Regions from separate parts of the Homo sapiens genome. Here region 1 is linked to region 2. The links are contacts of gene promoters, found by promoter capture Hi-C in human tissues and cell types (Jung and others, 2019). All regions are on one chromosome and are shown on one strand. The core of a region is centred on a gene start or on the middle of the fragment in contact, and the rest is flanking DNA. Distances in the headings are between cores, read along the strand shown. Region 1 has its middle 25 kb from the start of HNRNPDL. Region 2 holds the start of HELQ (helicase, POLQ like).

Region 1 (4,630 bases), core at 1,041-3,540, 1.0 Mb after region 2:
CCCGAGTAGCTGCTAATACAGACGCCTGCCACCACGCCCGGCTAATTTTTTTGTATTTTTAGTGGAGACGGGGTTTCACCATGTTTGGCCAGGTTGGTCTCGAACTCCTGGCCTCAGATGATCCACCCGCCTCGGCCTCCCAAAGTGCTGGGATTACAGGCGTGAGCCACCACGCCCGGCCCTATCTATTTTTTTAACAGGCTCTCGCTCTGTTTCTCAGGCTACAGTGCGGTGGTACATTCACGACTCATTGCAGCTGCAAACTCCTGGGCTCAAGCAATCCTCCTGCCTCAGCCTCTGCCCGCCTCAGTGTGTGGTGTGTGCCTGTAGTCTCAGCTACTCTGGAGGCTAAGGCAGGAGGATAGCTTCAGCCCACGAGGTCGAGCTGCAGTGAGCCATGACCACATCAATGGACTTCAGCCTGGGCAACAAAGCAATACCTTGTCTCAAAAAAAAATTTTTAGGCCGGGCGCGGTGGCTCACGCCTGTAATCCCAGCACTTAGGGAGGCAGAGGCGGGCAGATCACGAGGTCAGCAGATCGAAACCATCCTGGCTAACACAGTGAAACCCCGTCTCTACTAAATATACAAAAAATTAGCCGGGCGAGGCGGCAGGCGCCTGTTGTCCCAGCTACTCAAGAGGCTGAGGCAGGAGAATTGCGTGAACCTGGGAGGCGGAGCTTGCAGTGAGCCGAGATCGCGCCACTGCACTCCAGCCTGGGCAACAGAGGGAGACTCTACCTCAAAAAAAAAAAAGAAAAAGAAAAAGAAAAAGAAATACCCTATTAAATATACATGAAAGATTTTAAGTTGTATCCTGATTTCAGAAATATTAATATATGAAAAAGATCATTTTAGGAAAAATAACATACCATATGTCTCTGGTTCTTTTTTTTTTTTTTTTGAGACGGAGTCGCTCTGTCGCCCAGGCTGGAGGGCAGTGGCGCCATCTTGGCTCACTGCAAGCTCTGCCTCCCGAGTTCACGCCATTCTCCTGCCTCAGCCTCCCGAGTAGCTGGGACTACAGGCGCCCGCCATCACGCCCAGCTAATTTTTTTTCTACTTTTAGTAGAGACGGGGTTTTCACCGTGTTGGCCAGGATGGTCTCGATCTCCTGACCTCGTGATCCGCTCACCTTGGCCTCCCAAAGTGCTGGGATTACAGGAGTGAGCCACCGCTCGCGGCCTTGTCTCTGGTTCTTTTTTTTTTTTTTTGTGGTGGAGTCTCCCTCTGTTGCCCAGGCTGGAGTGCAGTGGTGCGATCTCGGCTCACTGCAAGCTCCGCCTCCCGGGTTCACGCCATTCTCCTGCCTCAGCCTCCTGAGTAGCTGGGACTACAGGCGCCCGACACCACACCCGGCTAATTTTTTGTATTTTTAGTAGAGACGGGGTTTCACCGTGTTAGCCAGGATGGTCTCGATCTCCTGACCTCGTGATCCGCCTGCCTCGGCCTCCCAAAGTGCTGGAATTACAGGCGTGAGCCACCACACCCGGCTGTCTCTGGTTCTTAAAGATTATCCTTAGACTCCTGCTCCCCTCGTGCAAGCTGCAATCATTTCTGCCCCTATTTGTTAGGATCCTGACCGCCAATGAGTCGACAGTCTCCTCCTCCAGACTTTTCTTTACATTTCAAAACTCAGGGTAGTATATTTTGGGGGACAGGAACAGTGCTAAATATATTCGCCTGCTAACATACTTAATTCTCACAATAATCCTGATGAGAGAAATCCAGTTTAGAGCCTTGTAGAGTAACTTGCTCCATGAATATCTGTTAATGAAAACCTCAGCAAGGACAAATGATTTGCCCATGTCTTGTCCTGTTAGAGACAGAATTCAAACCTGACTGGCTAGAAAGCCTGTGCCCTTTTCTGTACATCAACCTGCATGCCAGTATTGTGTTCAAAGGTGTTTTCCCTATCTTGGATTCCTGTGGAAAAGTTTATCAAGACCATCTATGTACCAGTTGATCTATAAAATCTCAATGCTTATTCGTTTTCTTTTTCTTTTTTTTCTTTCTGTCCTGAATGGTGTTAGAGAGAACACTATCTCACCATTTCTGCAGGCTATTTTATTTTATTTTTTGAGACAGTCTCGCTCTGTCACCCAGGCTGGAGTGCAATGGCTTGATCTCAGCTCACTGCAAACTCTGCCTCCCGGGTCCCAGCGGTTCTCCTGCCTCAGCCTCCTGAGAAGCTGGGACTACAGGCACCTGCCGCCACGCTCAGCTAATTGTGTCTTTTTAGTAGAGACAGGGTTTCACCATGTCGGCCAGGCTGGTCTCGAACTCCTAACCTCAAGTGATCCGCCCACCTCAGCCTCCCAAAGTACTGGCATTACAGGAGTGAGCCACGGTGCCTGGCCCATTTCTGCAGGCTTTAAAACTGAGAAAATAAATTAGCTGGGACTGAGAAAATAAAAATATGCCCCGCTATGCATGAATCTGGGAGGACACATACAAATAAAGTTAGCTGCAAAGTTAAAGAGAAATAATGTTTCTCTCAAGGACATGCTGCAGCTGTAAAGCATAAAAACAACCCCCTTGCTGGTGTGACTACTGTTTTGTCTCTGACTGAGAAGCTTAGTTCCCTGAAATGATAGACCAGAAACCACGGAAATTATGTCAGGAAAAATGAAATATCCCACTCTTACTTGGAACATCTAAGGCACAAAGAAGCAACTTTGATTTCCAATCCAGGTGCAAAGCTTCAGAGAAGGACTTTCTGAAAACAACATTCCACCTTAACTTCCTAGTACCCAAAGAGACGGGAACCATGGCCAGGCGTGGTGGCTCACCCCTGTAATCCCAGCACTTTGAGGGGCCGGGGCAGGCAGATCACCTGAGGTCAGGAGTTCGAGACCAACATGGCAAAACCCCGTCTCTACTAAAAATAACAAAATTAGCTGGGTGTGGTGGCAGGCACCTGTGGTCCCAGCTACTCAGGAGGCTGAGGCAGGAGGATAGCTTGAGTCCAGGAGGCGGAGGCTGCAGTGAGCCGAGGTTGTGCCACTGCACTCTGTCTCAAAAAAAAAAAAAAAAAAGAAAAGAAAAAGAAAAGAAACAGGAACCTGTTCTCCTTTGCAGTCCAGATCTGATGTTGTCCCACTTTACATACAACCCTATTTTGCTTTGATCCTATCAAAATACTGCTTTATTTAATTTTCACCTAAATGTCTCTCTTCCCCAAATCCTATCTTTTTTTCTTTTTTTGAGACAGAGTCTCCCTCTTGTCGACAGGTTGGAGTGCAGTGGTGTGATCTGGGCTCACTGCAGCCTCTGCCTCCCAGGTTCAAGTGATCCTCCTGCCTCAGCCTCCCGAGTAGCTGGGACTCCAGGCATGTGCCACCATGCCCTGCTAATTTTTGTATTTTTAGTAGAGACAGGGTTTCACCATGTTGGCCAGGATGGTGTTGATCTCTTGACCTCATGATCTGCCTGCCTTGGCCTCCCAAAGTGCTGGGATTACAGGTGTGAGCCACCATGCCCAGTCCCTATCTTTTTTTTTTTTTTTTTTTTTTTTGGACATAGGGTCTCACTGTAGCCCAGGCTGGAGTGCAATGGTGCAATTACAGCTCACTGCAGCCTCCACCTCCTGGGCTCAAGTGATCCTCCCACCTCAGCCTCCTGAGTAGCTGGGACCACAGGCGCATGACAGCACACCAGGCTAATATTTTTGTATTTTCTGTAGAGACAGGGTTTCACCACGTTGCTATGCTGGTCTCAAACTCCTGGGCTCAAGTGATCAGACCTTCTTGGCCTCCCAAAGTGCTGGGATTATAGGCTTGAGCCACCATGCCCAGCCCCTTATCTTATCTTTTCTTCTGTTTGGTGAGACATCTCATAGTTTCTCTGATGTGCAGTCTCTCTTGTTGCAGCAAGTCAGTAAACCGTACTTCTTTCAACTACAGGTTTGTCCCTGATGGTCTGAGGCTGATTGGGCTGGAACAGTATCATGGAGGTATGGCCAAGATCCTCGGTGCCGTGAACCAGAACCCTTGGTAATAATATGCGCATCTGAGACTTCTTGAGTCTCCCCTGCATTAGGCCTCTCTGTCCTTGATTACATGGGTTTTGCATTGAAACTGGACTTTTATTATCTCTTTGGTCCCTTAGGGTCATGCTGATTTCTTGAGTCAGCAGGCAGAGCAATTTATCCTTGGGGTTAGGGCCCAAATTCATGAGTTTTTCTTTTATGTTTTGTATTTTAAAAAGAGAGAGAATTTATTTTAAAACAGTTTCTTTTATATTACTTATAAAAGTAATATTTTTATTTTTGACCACCAGCCAACCTCTTGTGGTTTGCCTCTAAGATACTTGCACTACTTCCTGGCATAACTTGACAGAGGACCGTGAATTATAGAGGCTACTCTGGAGAACTTTGGCTCAAATAAGATTGTTCATTTTAGACATGTCTTAGAATGAAAAAGGAAAAAAACCCAAGTCTCATGAGGGTACTGTCTTCTCTATTCTTTTTCTTTTTTATTAAAATTTTTTTTCTCTTTTTTAAATGTTTTTTCTTTTTTGTCTTATCTTTCTAAAAGAGAGATCATTTAGTTTAATGAAAGACTCCCTCCCTCCCCAAACATCCTTCATTTCCATTCTTAGGGGTTTAATAAATATTGGCTGCTTTATT
Region 2 (4,778 bases), core at 1,870-4,369:
ACTCCTGACCTCAGGTGATCCGCCCGCCTTGGCCTCCCAAAGTGCTGGGATTACAGGCGTGAGCCACCACACCCAGCCAACATACAGAATTCTAGCGCTATTCACTTGCCCCAAATTTGCAACTTCTAACTTGCTGAGAGTTAGACAAGAGATAAGTAATATGTGAATCAGTGATATGGGTGGTGAGATAAAGAGATCAGCTTCACCAGATGAGCTTTTTCCAAAGTTCTGACCCTCACCAATTGAGAATTACTGCCACAGGGAGCTATTAAGATGTTTGGGGTAGTGAAAAAAACAGAGTGGAAATAACAGTAAGTGGGGGAAAGCCAAGGTGCTTTTACTTGAATAAAGCAGAGATAAGCTTATACATAGAATTATAACCAAATTTGAAATTATGAAGTTGCTAAAACAGTTACCTCTACAAAAGCCTGCTATAAACTGACTTGATTCTCTTTAAGCAGATCTATCAGAAGCAAAACCCTAAAATATAGTGAAGTAAAACCAGATCTCACCTGTACATTCTTATAATCTACATGCTTTCCACACAAGATACATTTCTTAAGAGGTTCTTTATAAGGATTTTCCATTGAAATGGGCTAGGGAAAAAAACGAAAAGTCTGATAATAGGATGTGTTAATTCTGAATTTTAAAAGGTTACTATTCTACATTCAAATCCATTCAAAGGATTAGTTATACCTTTCTTACTGTGTACATATTTTGTATAAGCACTTTATTTTGTTTTAGTTTAGCCTACGGATTAACGCATGGGAAGATTCTGGAATAAAGTACAATCTTCATAGAATAAAATTTTATGGCAGAACAAAAATGATGTCTGATAAGAAAGTGTTCCAATGCTTTGCTCAGATTGTAGATAATGAAAAAATTTTTAGATTTAAGGAAACTTACAACACAATAGATAACATATGCCATTCTTAAATGAGTACAATCCCTAATTTATCCATCCCCATGTCTCTATCAAGTATTTTATCACTATTTTTATACACAGATAATGGCCCATGACTTACTGTAATAAAAGGTTCTTTGACTTTATCACCCCAGGCTACTATATAAGTTTGTATCAGTCTTTTTGGCTTTTCTGTTACCACCACTGCCTCTAATGCTTTTGTCACAGTGCCTCCTTCCTACAGTCAGTATGGCTGTCTCCAGGATAGAGGTTCTTAATCTAGAAATGGCTTTGAAGCCCATGACTCCCTGTAATCGTATGCAAAACTTCAAATGAATGGGACTGTGTGCCTTTTTCTGTGGAGAGGGTCCATAACTTTGATTAGAGACAAAGTGGGATTTATGAACTAAAAAAGAAATAATGTCCCTTTACTTTCTTAAAGTATGGTGCATGGATTAGATTACCAAGACAGATGCTCAGAGAAACTAGACAAGTTCTTTTGTTTTTTCCAATTCCTCAAACTTTCCAATTTACATTCAGCTCACGTAACTACTCTTCAGCTCTGTGCCAAGTGCTTTGTATGGTCTAATTAGTGTCAAAATACCTTTGCATGTAGCAAGAACCTGTGCTTTCAGAAAGTCCATGTTAATACTATAGCCAACCTATAGCTAAGCTTTGTACAGTCTCTTTTCAGTTATCTAAAATTCTGCTCACCCAAACTACCTTTTAAAATTCCCATATCATTTGCTTACAAAGGGCTATGTAAAAAAAAAAAAAACAATTCCCAAATCACATATCCTTAAATTTAAGATCTAGGAAGAAAAATATGGTATTATAGCAGCTTTGCTTCTAATCTAGGAATTCCCCTACTTCAAAACTCAGCTGACTACATGACTACAATCAATTCATCATCATTTCTGAACTCAGAGTAATTATCAAATTGTTTTGTCCTACGGCAGAACTCTATTCAAGTAGCTAAAATAAAAGATGTTAGAGTCTAATACCAGATCTCGTTTTAAAAAGAAAAACATTTTGGTCATATTTGCAAAGGCCTTACTAATAGAAAAAAAAATTCTTACCAGGTCCTCATTGCTGGATACCTGTTGTGAACAACCTCTTCTCCAAAGCACTGCGATTAAACAGAAACAGCAATTAACCATTTCTTTTTCTTAGCTGAATAGCTAAAGATTTTTGTTTTTATGGAGACAGGATGAATTAAGGGACACGATATTAAAGAAAGGTTTTGTATTATATTCAGAATGGTTAAAAACTTTTATATTTGGGACAGAGTAAGACTCAACATGGGTGTGCTTTCCAGGGCTTAGGGGGAAAAGAACATATTTTCCCGCCCATACCTGCTCTTTCTGACATTTATTTTCCCTTCATTCCATGGTTAGAGAAAATTCTTAATGCAAATTCTTATAGGAGAAGCAACAGAAAGGCACTGTCATACCAAAAAGAAAGTAACAGACCCGTCCCAGAAAGAATTTATAGAGAAGCACAGAGAAGATAAAATTGCAAAAATTATGCAATTTTGTTCTGTTTGGGGACCTTAGACATCTGGAATTTGCTGCTGGGCGACTCTGGAAATGTCCCTTCCTCACTAAGATTATCCAGAGATCTTAGGAAAGTCTCTGCTTTTTAAGAACCACTCCAACTTCCTCATACGTTTAAATACTTTAAAGGAGTGGATTAGACGACACTAAAACAGTCAAAGGCAATTACAGATTCCCACCCATCTTGGAGAAACTTAATCGCCTAGAAACCAGAGTCGTTTTGCTAACAGGGACGACTCTAACCATTAGGACTAAGGTTAATGCCTGCAGCGCTACAATGGAGCATAGGATATGGAGACTTTACCCGTGTGAGTCCCGGGATGTGTAAGGCTGACAGCAGCCGTTACCAAGTGTGTCAACTTCTTCCTCCCTAGACCACCGCAAACAGCAACCACAGCGGCCATGGTTCCGCGTTTCTTCCACTTCCTTTCGTTCCAAATCGTTCCGAAAGGCCCCTTCCGCTGCTCTTCCCCTGTGGGCTCGAGTACCCCGTTCAAAGGTTCCGCAGGAGAACGCTGAGGACCCGCGAGAGTAGGTGAGGTTTTTCAATACGCATGCGCAGCACCTTTCTGTTCGTGCCCTCCCTACGCGGCAGGTCACGTGAGGCTTATGATTGGACAGGGTAGAAGTTTATGCGTGCTTCCGGTCCGCGAGCCCTGAGAGCTAACTTGGGGTCTTTTCCCAAGGTGGATGTAGAAGCGGGCTCCGGCGTCCCACTCTCCCTTCCATATGGGCTTAGCGTCTGGGTCACTGAGAACGACGTCTGAATAGGGCCCTGGGTCCTTGCCATGGATGAATGTGGTTCCCGCATCCGCCGGCGGGTGTCTCTCCCCAAAAGGAACCGTCCAAGCTTGGGGTGTATTTTTGGCGCTCCCACCGCGGCCGAGCTCGTGCCCGGAGATGAGGGGAAAGAGGAGGAGGAAATGGTGGCTGAGAACAGGAGGCGGAAAACCGCGGGCGTACTGCCGGTTGAGGTACAGCCCCTTCTACTCTCAGATTCCCCGGAATGTCTCGTCCTTGGAGGTGGTGATACAAACCCGGACCTCCTACGTCACATGCCCACTGACAGAGGGGTGGGAGACCAGGTACGGAGGACTTGGAACTTGAAACTGCAAACTTTTGGCATCCTTCCCAGATGCAAAGAGTTGACCAGTTTTATCGCCTTCGTTTACTTCTCTCGTCTTCGTTACCACTGTTAATCGGCACTTAGGAGGTATTGATTGCCTTGTTATTTACATTTCTATATAAATATGAAATGTAAACCCCGAGACATAAAAGTTGTGCACGCAGCAGTTAAGTGGCATGACTGAGACACAAATCTAGGCTTCCAGATAACTGCAGCTCCTACTGTACAAATAAAATCTGCTGTTTATTGAAGACCCGTTATGTTAAGCTAGTTATATTATCTAGATTTTACGACAGTAATCAGGCCCTGAAAAGTTGAGATAGTACAGTTCTTGCTCCAAATCCTGTTGTCTTAATCACTTTACTATATTGCTGCCTCCAGGTTTGTGTGTCTTCTGTGTAGCAGACCACTCCAAGTCAGTATTCAGTTTCTCAGTCTCAATTCCAAATTCCTAGGAACTCCTTGGAGTGTCTAGTGGTACAACCATGTTTCTGTTAGAGGCCAGTCACTGTAGATTGTAGTCTGGGAGGGAAGCGCTGCAGTTATCAGAAACTTCGAATGCGCTGACATTTCAGTAGACGTCTACCAGTCTTCCTGCTGTTTTAGTACAGCTTTAAGAATTACAATCTGGCCGTGTGCAGTGGCTCATGCCTATAATCCCAGTGCTTTAGGAGGCAGAGATGGGAGGATCACTTAAGCCCAGAAGTTCGCGTTCAAAACCAGCCTAGGCAACAGAGACCCAGTCTCTACAAAAAAAAAAAAAAATTTTTTTTTCTTAATTAGCCGGGTGTGGTGGCCTGCACCTGTAGTCCTAGCTACTTGGGAGGCTGAGGCAGGAGGATCGCTTGAGCCCAGGATGTCAAGACTGCAGTGAGCTGTGATCGTGCAGTGGCTGGAGCCACTGTGCTCCAGCCTGGGTGACAGAGCCAGACCCTGTCTCAAAAATTAGAATCTCAGTATCATCGTAACACTCCTGAACCTGCTGTTTAGGCAAGTAATTTAACCTCTTTGGGCCTCCATTTCTTCAGCTGTAAGATATCTATTTACATATAGGTCTGTGATCCATATGTGACCATATAATTATATACTTGGTACAGCCCTAGGCTGAAGTGTTTTTTGGGGGTTTTGTTTGTTTGTTTGTTTTGGTTTTTTTGAGACAGAGTCCCACTCTGTTGCCCAGGTTGGAGTGCAA

What was found. Contacts are between HindIII fragments. The study calls those that stand out against the background at their distance.
Region 1: a contact is called between a fragment that was not itself captured here and the fragment with the promoter of HELQ in region 2, in 1 of the 25 tissues and cell types used here (spleen).

The regions. Positions count from the first base shown.
Region 1 is chr4:82,403,610-82,408,239 of GRCh38, reverse strand. No RefSeq gene overlaps it. Among named protein-coding and RNA genes, the nearest start is that of HNRNPDL, 25 kb to the left of the region's middle. The HindIII fragment of the contact is 5,458 bases long and covers 1-4,630 here.
Region 2 is chr4:83,454,164-83,458,941 of GRCh38, reverse strand. HELQ (helicase, POLQ like) reads left to right here and starts at 3,119. Exons shown (of 18, transcript NM_133636.5): 1 at 3,119-3,545. The coding sequence starts at 3,249. MRPS18C (mitochondrial ribosomal protein S18C) reads right to left here and starts at 2,884. Exons shown (of 6, transcript NM_016067.4): 1 at 2,765-2,884; 2 at 1,984-2,033; 3 at 513-596. The coding sequence starts at 2,864. RefSeq lists enhancers at 2,832-3,126, 3,113-3,222, 3,563-3,612, 3,041-3,871. The HindIII fragment of the contact is 3,157 bases long and covers 970-4,126 here.